Linked DNA regions of Homo sapiens: region 2 is linked to region 1. The links are contacts of gene promoters, found by promoter capture Hi-C in human tissues and cell types (Jung and others, 2019). All regions are on one chromosome and are shown on one strand. The core of a region is centred on a gene start or on the middle of the fragment in contact, and the rest is flanking DNA. Distances in the headings are between cores, read along the strand shown. Region 1 holds the start of TNFAIP8L1 (TNF alpha induced protein 8 like 1). Region 2 overlaps SH3GL1 (SH3 domain containing GRB2 like 1, endophilin A2).

What was found. The method cuts DNA at HindIII sites, captures the fragments that hold promoters and counts their contacts. A contact is called where the count stands out against the background at its distance.
Region 2: a fragment that was not itself captured here is called in contact with the fragment with the promoter of TNFAIP8L1 in region 1 in 1 of the 25 tissues and cell types used here (dorsolateral prefrontal cortex).

What each region holds. Positions count from the first base shown.
Region 1 is chr19:4,637,687-4,643,980 of GRCh38, forward strand. It overlaps TNFAIP8L1 (TNF alpha induced protein 8 like 1), which reads left to right and starts at 1,830. Exons shown (of 2, transcript NM_152362.3): 1 at 1,830-1,943. RefSeq lists silencers at 1,351-1,430, 1,491-1,930 and an enhancer at 1,831-2,830. The HindIII fragment of the contact is 40,660 bases long and covers 1-6,294 here.
Region 2 is chr19:4,357,780-4,364,613 of GRCh38, forward strand. It overlaps SH3GL1 (SH3 domain containing GRB2 like 1, endophilin A2), which reads right to left. Exons shown (of 10, transcript NM_003025.4): 5 at 6,309-6,442; 6 at 5,941-6,099; 7 at 5,591-5,694; 8 at 4,833-4,957; 9 at 4,550-4,606; 10 at 2,591-4,017. The coding sequence ends at 3,821. MPND (MPN domain containing) reads left to right here. Exons shown (of 13, transcript NM_001300862.2): 11 at 304-393; 12 at 1,384-1,476; 13 at 2,137-2,299. The coding sequence ends at 2,223. Among named protein-coding and RNA genes, the nearest start is that of MPND, 18 kb to the left of the region's middle. The HindIII fragment of the contact is 4,746 bases long and covers 2,841-6,834 here.

The DNA.
Region 1 (6,294 bases), core at 580-3,079:
CTGGAGTGCAGTGGCGCGATCTCGGCTCACTGCAACCTCTGCCTCCTGGGTTCAAGTGATTCTCGTGCCTTAGTCTCCCAAGTAGCTGGGACTACAGGCGTGCACCACCACTCCTGGCTAATTTTTTCATATTTTTGCTTTATTTTTTATTTTTTGAGATGGACTCTTGCTTTGTAGCCCAGGCTGGAGTGCAGTGCCGCGATCTCGGCTCACTGCAATCTCTGCCTCTGGGGTTCAAGCAATTCTAGCACCTCAGCCTCCCGAGTAGCTGGGACTACAGGCGTGCACCACCACGACCAGCTAATTTTTTTTTTTTGTATGTTTTATTTTTTGAGATGGAATTTTGCTCTGTCGCCCCGGCTGGAGTGCAGTGGCCCGATCTTGGCTCACTGCAACCTCTGCCTCCAGAGTTCAAGCGATTCCCCTGCCTCAGCCTCCTGAGTAGCTGGGATTACAGGCATGTGCCACCACACCCGGCTAATTTTTGTATTTTTAGTAGAGACGGGGTTCCACGATGTTGTCCAGGCTGGTCTCAAACTCCTGACCTCAGGTGATCCGCCCACCTCGGCCTCCCAAAGTGCTGGGATTACAGGGGTGAGCCACCGGGCCCAGCCAATGAGATATTTAACTTACTTTTGCCTCCTGAGGCCTGTGCCTCGGTCTTCCTGAATCCCGTGTGCAGGTCAGGACACACAACAGGCCCTCAACAATTTGTTGTCTGGCTTCCTGGAGGAAGAAGCAGCGAGGTTGCTATGGGCTCCCTAGGCCCTAGCTGCAACCGGGACCCAGAGTTGGGCTGCAGGGCGGAAATGGTGCTGCAGGGGACCTGGGAGCAGCTCCAGGGCCTGGTTCCCAGGACTCACAGCTGCATCCTCCCCGGGGGACCCCAGCTGGCGCTGCGCAGCCGGGAGGCTCCTGTGTGTCCTGCAGGCTCATTCCTACGGAAATCGAGGCTGGACCTGGGGATCCTCTGATGAGGTCTCCAGGAGCCCTCCACCTCACCCCAAAGATTCATCTATAGCCCCACAACCCTGGGTTAGATTCATCCCTTCTTGTGGCACAGAACTCTGTATTTTTAAAATTTTAACTTATTTTGATCTTCTTCTTTTTCTTTCTTTCTTTTTTTTTTTTTTTTTGTAGAGACAGGGTCTCCCTAGGTTGCCCAGGCTGGTTTCAAACTCCTGGGCTCAAGGGATCCTCCTGCCTTGGCCTCCCAAAGTGCTGGGATTCCAGGCGTGAGGCACCACACCTAGTTGGAATCTGCATTTTAAAATGGACTCTCAGATCTTTCTGACGCGAAGGGTTCCCCGAGGCCGTACTTTGAGAAACACGCTTCTGCCGAAATTCCTATTACCCAGGCGGGTAAACTAGCCCCAGAAGGAGGAAGGGGCCCGTGCAGAACCACGTGGTTGGTCTGTTTTGCCTTTTGGCTCTCTGGTCTCTTCCTGTTGGTGTCTCTGTGCCTCCCTCCCCAGGTTCTCTGTCTGTCTCGTACTCTTATCTCTTCCCTTTTCTGTGGCCGGCACCCCCACGACGGCCTCGCCCCCGCATCCGGGCCCCTTCGCGATTCCGGAGGAATCCCCCAGAGCCGCCTGACCCCGCCCCCAGGCTCCGCCCCTTCCCCCCACTTCCCCCCCGTCGCAGTGCCCTGCTCCCATTGGCCTTTTCGTACATTGCCCGCCCTGTCATTGGCTAATCCGGAGCGCTCGGCCCGCCCCCCAGGCCTGGCAACTCTCCGGTCCCTTCCGCGCGGGCGGGGCGAGTGGAGGGCGTGGCCTGCCGAGGGGCGAGGCGAGTGGAGGGCGGGGCCGCGCTGCCCGCCCCGCCCCGGCCCCGGCCCCGGCTCCGGCGCTGCTCCCACCGCCGCGGCAACGGCCCCGGCCCACGGAGGCGGCTGGACGGACCCCCGACGGTTGGACGTACGGACTCTGCTTCGAGAGTAGGTGAGCGAGCAGTGCCGGGGCGCCCCCCATTTCAGCGCATCTCGGGGGCCACCTGGCCGCCCTCTGTCTCTCCCGCCCCTTAATGCTTCTGCACCCCACCGCCTGTCCGTCTACATTCCTGCCTCAGTTTCCGTCTGTCTCTCTGTCACTCTCGCTGTATAGGTTAGGGGGAGACAGATTGAGTCTCAATTGCCCCCCTTGGCGTGGGGCTCTGCTCTGGGACCAGCACCCCCATCCCCCATGTGGACTCTAGTGGACTCTGCCCCCTTTAACTGTAGGGCCGCAGGTGCTCAGGCCAGATTCCAGAACCCTGAGGGCATTCCAGGCGGTGGGCAGCTGGGCCAGCCGTGCGGAGGTGGGCATGACTGTAGCTTCTAGCTAAACCAGGCATCGGTCCAGGCATCGGTGGCGGGGAGCCAGGCCTAGGCCAGCCCGGGCCCACCCAGACTGGCCCCTAATGAGCTCCCAAGTGGCCTGTGGGGACTTGGCCTCAGTTTTGCCAGCTGTGAACTGGGACCGTCGCTGCTAAGGTAATTGGCAGGTGATCTGAAGGACACCTGCCGCCTCCTGGCCTTTTCTGTGAAGTCGAACTAGGCCCATTTCCTGGGATGGGAAACTAAGGCCTAGAAAGAGGCCAATGCTTCCAATGTTTGTCCAGGGAAGTGGGGACAGAGGCAGGACAGAATCTGTTTTCTCTGCATCCTCACATTTCCCAGCACCTTCTCTATGGAGGGGGGAAGGGCTGGTGGAGGAGCAGCCCCAGGTGTAAACAGGCCGCCAGAGTTTATTTCCTGAGCCAGTCCCAGCTCAGCTGGAGGCGATGAACGCCTTGGGAGGCCCCAGGGGGGCCAGCCCAGTGGTGGCGGAGCTTGGACCAATCTAGGTTTGAGCTCTGCCACCCGCATGATATCTTGAACCAGTTTTTCAATTCTGCGGAGCCTCAGTTTCCTCATCTGTAAAACAGGAGTGGGTCGTAACTCCCCAAGTTGAGGGCTGCTGGGGGATCAGATGCAGGAATACAGGCCCTGCTCATAACCTGCCTGACTCTCGCTGTGGCTCTGCCCCAGTCACACTGGCCTCCTCCTGTTTCTCCAACACCCCAGGCGAGGTCCTCTCTCAGGGCCTTTGCATGGGCTGTGCCCTCTGCCACTACGGCAGGTCCGAGGGCGCCAACTTTGAAACATAACAAGCTCCCTGGATGGGCCGGACCCAGGACCTGCACAGGCAAGGGCTGGGAGGGGCAGAGGAGGGGCCGCTCAGGGACGCTGTACCTATGGAAACCGTGAACAAAGGGCTGTCTCCAGCCACACAAACACCTGGGTGAATCGGGCACTGGCCAGAGGCTGGAGCAGCCTGGGATACAGGTGGTGGGTGAGTGCCTGGACCCCTGCAGGGAATATGGGGCCGGGGGGGGGACTTGAACCCTGCTCCAATGGTGGGGTGGCTCTGCAGACGGGTGCAGGTCTGAGGCCCCGCGGTACGGCCCCTCCCACTGTGTGGCCTTGGACCGACGGTCAGGTGCCCCCAGAGCCTCAGTTTCCTCATCCCCGTTCCCCCAGGGGTCAGCCCAGGTGGGTGAGGGGTCTTTTGATTGCTTGACAATTCAGTATGGTGGGTTCCGGAGGCCTCAGTGTCCCTGTCTGTCCAATGGGGCCACGAAAGGGTGCCTTGAGGACAAAACTCCAGCCGTTGACAGGGGAACACTCCTCCCAGAGAGACGTCAACGCTAAAAAATGACTCACACTTGCCCAGGTACAGCTCAGGTGTTACAGACGGGGAGCAGGGCAAGGAGGCAGAGCGAGAGGCAGGAACGGCCCAGTTCCACAGCATGCCTGCCCCTTCCCAGCATCTCCCGACACCCCTCAGCAGATGACCTCCCTGGAATCACACCCGCTCGAGCTTTGACGCAGGGACCTCTGGCAGAGTTCTTGGGATCTTGTAAATCCCCAGCTTCTAGGCCTCAGTTTCCCCATCTGTCCAATGGGGCTGGTCATCTCCTTTTTCTTGTGGGGCTGAGATAACTGTGGGGAGGGAGGGTGCTTTGAGGGGTGGGGGAGATTCAACAAGATATTGTTAAAAGCCCGAGGAGGGGATTACAGGACACAGTACTTCTAGAAGCTTCCTAAGGCTTCGATCCTTCCCCTCTGGGGTGGGCTCTGGGAGAGACGAGACTTGAACCCCAAATGTGCCATTGACTAGGATGAGGAAAGGATTGCACTAGGTTAAAGGCTGGGTTCAAATTCTGATTCTGCCACATCACTGCTTTATAAACAGGCAAGCTCCTGACCCTCTGTGACTCAGTTTCCTTATAACCAAAAACTTGCAGGTCCATCTAGAGAATTTCCCAGCCTGGGCAACATGGTGAAACCCTGTCTCTACTTAAAACAAAGAAAAAAAAATTAGCCAGGTGTGGTGTCGCAGGCCTGTAGTCCCAGCCACTCTGGAGGCTGAGGTGGGAGGATCACCTGAGCCCAGGGAGGTTGAGGCTGCAGTGAGCCGAGCTCATGCCACTGCACTTCAGCCTGGGCGACAGGAGTGAAACCCTGTCTCAAAGAAAAAGAAGAGAATTGGCTGGGCGCCGTGGCTCACGCCTGTAATCCCAGCACTTTGGGAGGCTGAGGTGGCCGGATCACCTGAGGTCAGGAATTCGAGACCAGCCTGGCCAAGAGGGCAAAACCCTGTCTCTACTAAAAATACAAAAATGAGGCGGGCGTGGTGGTGGGTGCCTGTAATCCAGCTACTCAGGAGGCTGAGGCAGGAGAAACACTTAAACCCAAGAGGCAGAGGTTGCAGTGAGCCGAGATTGCACCACTGCTCTCCAGCCTGGGTTGACAGAGTGTGAGACTCCATCTCAAAAAAAAAAAAAAAATTAAAAATATACACATAAAATAAATAAAATAGATGGGGGATCTGGGAGGGCTTCCTGAGGAGGGGCCATGTAAACCCAGACCTGGATGACAAGAAGGAAACAGCCATGTGGAGACCTGGGAGAAGAGCAGCTCAGGCAGAGGGCACAGGTTGTGTAAAGGCCCTGGGGCAAGATGGCGCCTGGCATGGTAGAGGAGCAGCAAGGAGGCCCGTGGGGCTGGAGCAGTGAGGAGGAGGAGAGAGGGAGGAGGGGAGGGCAGGGAGGGGACAGGGCAGGGTGCGCAGGATCTTATGGGCTGCCAGGAATACTTGGCTTTGACCCCAAGGGAGGTGGGAGCCATGGAGGGTGGTGGGCAGGGGAAGGATGGAACCTGACTCAGGTACTCACAGGCACCCATTGGCTGCTACAGGGAGGACAGACGGGGGGCATGGGGATAGATGGTGCTGAGGGACGAGGGGACCAGGATGGAGGCTGTGGGGGAGATAAGAAGTGGGTTGCGTTAGGCCAGGCAGGGTGGCTCATGTAATCCCAGCACTTTGGGAGGCTGAGGCAAGTGGATCACCTGAGGTCAGGAGTTGGAGACCAGCCTGACCAACATGGTGAAACCCCATCTCTACTAAAAATACAAAAATTACCCAGGCATGGTGGCACGTGTCTGTAATACCAGCTACTCAGGAAGCTGAGGCAGGAGAATCACCTGAACCCAGGAGGCGGAGGTTGCAGTGAGCCGAGATCACGCCGCTGCACTCCAGCCTGGGCAACAGAGTGAGACTCTGTCTCAAAAAAAAAAAAAAAGTGGGTTGCATTGGGACACATTTAGGGGCTGGATGCACCTCCTGCCAGGTGATCCTAGGCTTCTCTGCACTCTAATAATTTATTGCTTGGGCTGAGGCAAGCCTGTCCCCTCCTCTGCAGAGTCATGGGCTGTGGGTAGCTGATAATTCATGTTTGGCCCTCGAACCCTTTCTCCAGTGGAAATCTGGCCACAGTGGAAAGTGTCCAGGCTCCCCGCCACAACCCAGCAGGCAGCTGGCCCCTGCCCATCCATGGGGTGGTCCTGAGGGTGCTGGGGAACCCAGTTTGAGAACAACTGATGTCACCCCCAACTTGGGCCAACAGATTCCCCTCTCTCTTTTGCCATAACTAAAATGGACACTGGCGAAGTATGGCGGCTCATGCCTGTAATCCTAGCATTCTGGGAGGCCGAAGCAGGAGGATCGCTTGAGCCCAGGAGGAGACCAGCCTGGCCAACATGGCAAAACCCCATCTCTACTAAAAATACAAAACTTAGCCAGGCATGGTGGCAGGTGCCTGTAATCCCAGCTATTTGGGAGGCTGAGGCAGGAGAATTGCTTGAACTGGAGAGGTGGAGGTTGCAGTGGGCTGAGATCGCGCAACAGAGCGAGACTCCATCTCAAAAAATAAATAAATAATAAAATTGGCCGTTCACGGTGGCTTATGCCTGTAATCCCAGCACTTTGG
Region 2 (6,834 bases), core at 3,964-6,463, 280 kb before region 1:
ATTGGCTGCTCAGTACAAAGAGGGCTCCCTTCCTGACCCTGCCTGGCTTCATTCCCCAATCCTGCCCTGAAGTCAGAGGTCAGCCCTGGGAAGTCATTTCAGGGCCCTGGCTCTCCTCTGGGCCTCTCCCACAGTAAGGATGCTACACTGCCTCCCTGGTCCCACCACCAGGTGCCGATCCCGGTGCAGAGCTGAGCCGGGGTGTGCACTCTCCCGTTCCCAGCCCGGGCACTGCCAATTGTCCCCAGCTGCCATGGGCTGCGGGCTGGTGAGGCTTCTCTCACTGGTCTGTGTCCCTGCCAGCAAAGGCCCAGTGACTATGGCATCCCCATGGATGTGGAGATGGCCTACGTCCAGGACAGCTTCCTGACCAATGACATCCTTCACGAGATGGTGAGCTCGCTGCGGGGCGGGCAGGCAGGGGCTGGCAGTGCGCAGCTGGGCACACGATGCGTTGGTCTGCTTCCCACCGGTGGGCTTGGGAAGCTATGGCTGGTGGCGCCTTGGGGGCCTGGGTTAGGGCTTCTTCCATCACTCAGGACAGAGTCCAGGCCCTTGCCAGGGTCCCTCCAACTTCTGCCCTCCCTCACCTCCCCACCTGCTGTTCTCTAAGGCACTGGCCTCTTCTGCCAGGCTGTCCAGTAGAGAAACCCCAGGGACTTTGGGTGGTAACTGGATGAACACTTAAAAATTGTGTGTTCAACATGCATTTAAAACACTAAACTAAGGCAGACATAGTGGCTCACGCCTGTAATCCCAGCACTTTGGGAGGCTGAGGTGGGTGGATCACCTGAGGTCAGGAGTTCGAGACTAGTCTGGCCAACATGGCGAAACCCTGTCACTACCAAGATAGAAAAGCTAGCCAGGAGTGGTGGCGGGTGCCTATAGTCCTAGCTACTTGGGAGGCTGAGGCAGGACAAGCTCTTGAACCCGGGAGGTGGAGGTTACAGTGAGCCGAGATCACGCCACTGCGCTCCAGTCTGGGCCACAGAGTGAGACCCTACCTCAAGGAAAAAACCCAACAAAACCTAAACTAGTTCGTCAAACCTGTGACCTCACAGGTGTCACTGCTGGGGATGAGGCCGAACCAGGGGGCCACGTCAGGCCCGCGTGGTTCTGGAGAACTGGGCTCGGTGAGTGCAGGTCCAGGTGGACCTCTCGTGGCAGCCACTTGGGCAACGCTGCTGCCTCCCCCTCGAGAGAGCCCTCCTGGACCTAAGCTAGGTGAGCCCTCTGGCTAAGGTCACTCGTGATCTCTTTGTGGTTGGTTTGTTAGTGATGGGGTCATGTCTCAGGGCTGCCTGAGACTGGAACCCCAGGAGAGGCGCTGAGGTACCTCAGGCTTGGAGGGAGCCTGGGAGTCCATGCTCCTCTGTCCTGTAGATGCTGCTGGTGGAGTTCTACAAGGGTTCCCCTGACCTCGTGAGGCTCCAGGAACCCTGGAGCCAGGAGCACACCTACCTCGACAAGCTTAAGGTGAGCCCCAAGTCCCCGCAGACCTCCTAACGGGGCCCCAGGAGAGGCCCCCTGGGCAGCCTAAAAGGTGGCAGCAATGAGCCCCGTGGGCCTCAGGGGCCTGAGACAGCCCAGCTGGCAGACTGGTGACCCTGGTCACCCCGTGGCCACCCCAGCAGGGTGCAGGCCAGATTTGATTGGACTGTGGAGCTTTAAGCTCCGGCAGTGCCGGATGAGGTCCTGGCAGCGGGTTTTGGGAGTGGCTCCCCTGCAGAGGGCCCAGGGTCCTGGCCACCCCTGAGTGTCTTAGGGTAGTGGTTCCTGGTTTCCCTCCACCTGGCATAGAAAGGGACTCATTCTGCTCAGCTCTCGGCTAGCTGTGGAGGCTGTGGTGTCCCCATGGGTGTCTGGAACCAGGCAGGGAGGGGCTGAAGTGGGGGCAGGATCGGGAGTGTGCACATAAGCCCCACCCCTCCACACAGCACCGCTGCCCCTGGGAGCCAGGCCCTCGGTTACATACTGCCCCACTGGGTAAGCAGCAGGCTGTGCTGCGGGACCCCAGCCCTGTGCCTCGGTCTCAGGGGGGCTCAGTCAGGATGCTGGACTTGCACGGTGGACTGTGAGGCGCAGGGCTGGCTAGGACCCCCGGGCACAGCCTGAGGCCCAGCCCCCTCGTTTCAGATCTCCTTGGCCAGCAGGACGCCCAAGGACCAGAGCCTGTGTCACGTCCTGGAACAGGTGTGCGGCGTCCTCAAGCAGGGGAGCTGAGCCTTCCAGGGCAGGGTGGGCTCCAGTTGTCTTGAGGGTCCGGATGGGCTCAGGTAATAAAGAAACGGAAGCAGCAGCCAGCCACGCTGGTCTCCCCAAGGCTGGGGTGAGGGTGGCTGGGTGCCCAGGCTGGTACCATCACCCCAGCTTCCTCACTTCCAGGGCAGGGCATTAACTTCCAGGATACCCCTCAGCCCCTGCACCTGGGAACTGGCACAAAAGCCTCAGGGCCAGTCCCACCCACCTTGGGCTCAGGAGCACCTGGGGTGCTGGAGGGACCTCCTGGGGTGTGTGTGGCTTTGGAGCCGGCCCCTCAGGAAGGCGGTGGGTGGCAGGCCCACCCCTGCACCAAGACGAGGCAAGGGGCTGTAGAAAGAGACATTTAATACTTCTGTTTACAAAATTCAGGCGTACATTTCAGTTTGCCCTGGACCGTGCCCAAAGCTGTGTGCTCATCTCTGCGCCCCTCATGTACTTCTGACGAGGGGGGTGCAGGGCAGGGCAGAGCAGAGCCTGGGGTCCGGAGGCTTCACTGGACCACAGGGGGAGGGGAATGTGAATGTGGCCTGGCCCAGAGAACTCCCCATTTCATCGATTTTGCATTGGGCGATAGAGGAAGCAGATGTCGGGGCTGCCTGCCTTGGTCTAGAGGAGATGGCTGGGGCCACTTCCCACAGGGTGAAGTGGCAGCGGCTCAGCAAGGGGAGCCTGGCCACCAGGGGCTGGGACATGCGCTCACTGGAACCTTTGTGCTTGGCCCTCGGCAGCGCGGCTGTGGTCCCGTGTGAGGTGTGCTGGGGTGGGTGTGGGTGGCTGGTGGTGGCAGCTTGTGCCAGAGTGACACAGGCCTCCCTGGGTTGGGATGGGGGCAGTTAAAAAGCTGAAAAGGTACTTGGCTTTCTGAGGGCGGGGCTTGGGAGGCAGGGCCCTGCAGGAGACCATGTTCTCTGTCCTCAGGCAGATCCCAGCTGGCCTCTGTCCCCGGGCTGCAAGCTGACAGCAGGCCCGGGAGGCGGTGAGGCCCTCTGCCCTGGCCTTGAGGAGAAGGAGTGCGTGTGTGAGGCGGGGGTGCATTGGCCCTGGAGTAGGGCCAGGGCCCATCACCAGCACCAGGCTGGGAGGGATTTAAAACCAGGGTCCTATCTCTGAGCCACCCCATGGGGACCCTCGATCCCATCCTGTTAAGGCTGCGGGACTCGAGGGTAGGCAGTGGGCCGGGCCCCCGTCGGGTCAGGACGGAGGTGGGGGCTGCCCCAGAGGAACATTAGTGTTTCTAAGAGCACCTTAGTGTTGCCCCGCCTCGGCCAGCTGGGCGAGAAGTTGGGGAGCGGGGGAGGAGGCTGGCGCCATGGAGTGGGGAAGGGAGCCGTCACCGTTGGGAGTCAGCGCTAGTGTAAACAGGCATCCCCACCCACCCAGATAAGCCCCCCCACCCAAGTGTGGGGTCCTGCTCAGGGAGTACCTCAAGGGCCGGGGCCCAGGTGGCGCCGGCAGGCTCAGACACCGCCCTGGCAGCAGGGGCTCCGTGGAATGCAGGAGACCCAGCAGGGGGTGCCGGCCAGTGTGGACGGAGGGGCGGGGCGGGGACACGGGTGAGTCACTGCGGCAGGGGCACAAGCACCTCCACGTAGCTGAGCGGGAAGAAGCCCGACTGGCCGTCCAGCATGCCCTCGTACCAGTTCTCATCGATCTGGTTGGTCAGCGTGATGACGTCGCCCTCATGGAAGCCCAGCTCCCCGTCGTTCTCGGGCTCGAAGTCGTACAGCGCCTTGCAGCTCGGCTGGTCCAGGGGCGCTGGGGGCGGGAGCGGGCTGTGGGGCTGGGGCTGCTACGCCTCACCCCGCCCAGTCTGGGGTCTCAGACCTGCTGTGACCTGGAGCGTGTGGGTGGGCATGGGCCTCCCCTCTGCCCTGCCTGGGCCACCCCCTGCCCCTGCCACTTCTGGGGTCCGGCCTCTACTGCCACCCAGGAGGGAGGATGGGAGAAGCTTGGTTTAAGTGGTCACCAAAGCTACTCCTGGGAAGTGCTGGGGACACCCGGTGCTGCTGCGGTGACAGGGAGTGACCAGATGCCCTCAAGCCCTTGTAGCCACCACACAGCCTAGAGCTAGCTGGGCTAGTGCCCTTGGCAATCCCTCATTCACACTGTGAGGCTGAGACCCAGAGGGGTGGCATCTTGCAGGCTGTGGGGCCTGTGCCCCCTACTGCTGCACGAGCCTGGCCCCTCCCTGCTTGAGATGGGCAGAGAACAGGGCGGGAGGAGAAACACCCTCCCCGAATGGCCGAGAAGGCAGCACTGAGGTCGAGGCGGGCCTGGGAACACTCACGCATGCTCCGGCTAGGGGTCCGGATGGGCTTGTCGGAAGATCGGAAAGACGATGAAGCTAAACACAAGCAAAACGAGGAGGCTGTGGGCTCAAAACGGTCGGGCAGGGCCCCTTCTGCAGAAGGCTGGGGCCAGCCCTTCCCGTCTGCCTTGGCGGTCCAGATGGAGCACGGCTGAGAGCTGCACCCAGGAGTCTGGCGCTCAGAGACCCAGGACAGGGCCAGCCCTTGGCCACTCCCACCCGCTGGCATTTGCCTCCGCAAGAGGGCTCCATGCCCCATTACCTGCGATCTTGGGGGCTGTGGTGCAGGGGAAGCCCCCGTTGGACTGCTCAGGCTCTCCAAGGTCAAAGGGCTCCCGGGGCTTGGGCTTATACTCCCGCTTAGGGCGTGAGGAAGCTTCCCGCATCCTGTGAAGGGAGAGGCGTGAGTGGACCGAGCCCGTGTCACGGCCGAGGCAGCCCCACTCTTGTATTTATGCTGCTGCCTAATGACCTGGCCTGGGACTGCAGGAAGAGGCCGTCAGTGGGGTTGTGACACATGGACCCTGGGACACAGCTAGACTGGGATGTCTACCCAGAGGGCCTCCAGCCTGGACCCCCACCTTGGAGGCATCCCAGAGATTGCCAAGCAGCTGGGGCCTGCCACAGCATCTACCTACAACACCCCCAGTCGCATCCCCTGCCTCCTCCCCCAATTCCCCACCACGGACGGCGCCCCACATACGCCAAGGCCCCTGAAGCAGGTCTGGCCTCTGCATTCAGGGAGGGGAGCCTGGGTGTTCCTGTGGCAGCAGCAACGTGCAGCCAGGGAGGGAGTCCCCGGGGCCTGCATCGGGGCAGGGCTGGGTGTTGACTCAGAGTTCTCAGAGCCCCAGCTCCTCTGACCTCGCGGCCCCCCAGGCCTTTCCACTCAGTCCCCAGGAAGAATCCAGGATGCTGCTCTGCCATGTGCTCACCCCACAGCGAGGTGTGCTGCCCACTTGCGCTGGCAGAGGGCGCATGGCAGCCCAGACTCTGGAGAGACCAAGGCCCTGGGCTCACCTGCGCTTGAGCTTCTCCGCCAGCTCGTCCAGGATCTGCACGGCCTGCCGGTGGTAGTCCAGCTGTGCATCCACCAGGGCCGAGAGCTGACTCACCTGCTCGATCTGTGGGGACAGTAGGGCTCAGGGGCTCCTGCCAGTGCCACTGTCCTGTGCCTTCCCTGACTCCCGAGGTGAAGCCACAGGAGGCAAGGGGGCTGAGAGGGGACAGGGGACTGGGGCCCATACCCTCCACCTCCCCTGCTGCAGCGGCCAGGTAGGTGCCGATCTGTCCTCCAGCTCCCTTGAGGCACCACCCCGGCCTCCCAAGGGCATAGGTCTTCTCAGGATGTGACACCCCGAGCTACTCACGTCAGTCTCCAGGAGGTTGTGCATGCTGGTTTCTGCCACCTCCTTGGACTCCTCGAACTTCTCCAGCGCCTGGCGTAGCTCCTCATCGGGGATCTTGCCCTGCCGCTTCTTCTTGTAGTCAAAGTCCAGGCGGCGGCCCTCCAGTTTCTTCAGGTGGTGCTGGAGACGTGGGGGACATGGGTCACACCAGTAGCGGCCAGAGGGCCGCCCCACGCATGGCTTTGACCCACTGTCCCTGCACCACTGGGGATCCTGCCTGCCTGAGACCCAGAGGGCAGTGCCGAGGCTGGAGGTGAGGGTGGCAGGAATGGGGCTGCCCCATCCGGCAGGGGGAAGGGACAGGCCCCAGGCTGGCGCAGGAGCAGCACCTGGATCTCCTTCAGGTCTTTCTCGCACAGGTTCTGGAGGGGGTCAATGAAGTTCTGCTTGACCTCGATGTCCAGGGAGTCCTTCACCTCTGCCAGGCGCTTCATGGACTCGCCGGCATCCAGCAATGCGTCACCTGTGGAGAAGTGGTGGGGGAAGCCATCATACCGGGCCTGGGACCACTAGACTGAGACACTCCTCAGCCTTTGTTTTTGAAATAGCGTTTCACAGGCTGGAACGCAGTGGCGCTGTACCAGCTCACTGCAGGCCTCAAACTGGGCTCAAGCCATGCTGGCACCTCAGCCTCCCAAGTAGCCGGGACCACAGGCGTTCACCCCCACACCTGGATCCTTTCCAACTTCTTTGAGATGAAGTCTCGCTGTTGCCCAGGCTGCAGTGCAGTGGCATGATCTCAGCTCACTGCAACCTCTGCCTCCCAGGTTCAAGCAATTCTCCTGTCTCAGCCTCCTGAGTAAGGGGGATTACAGGGGCCTGCCACCACATCCAGCTAATTTTTGTATTTTTAAT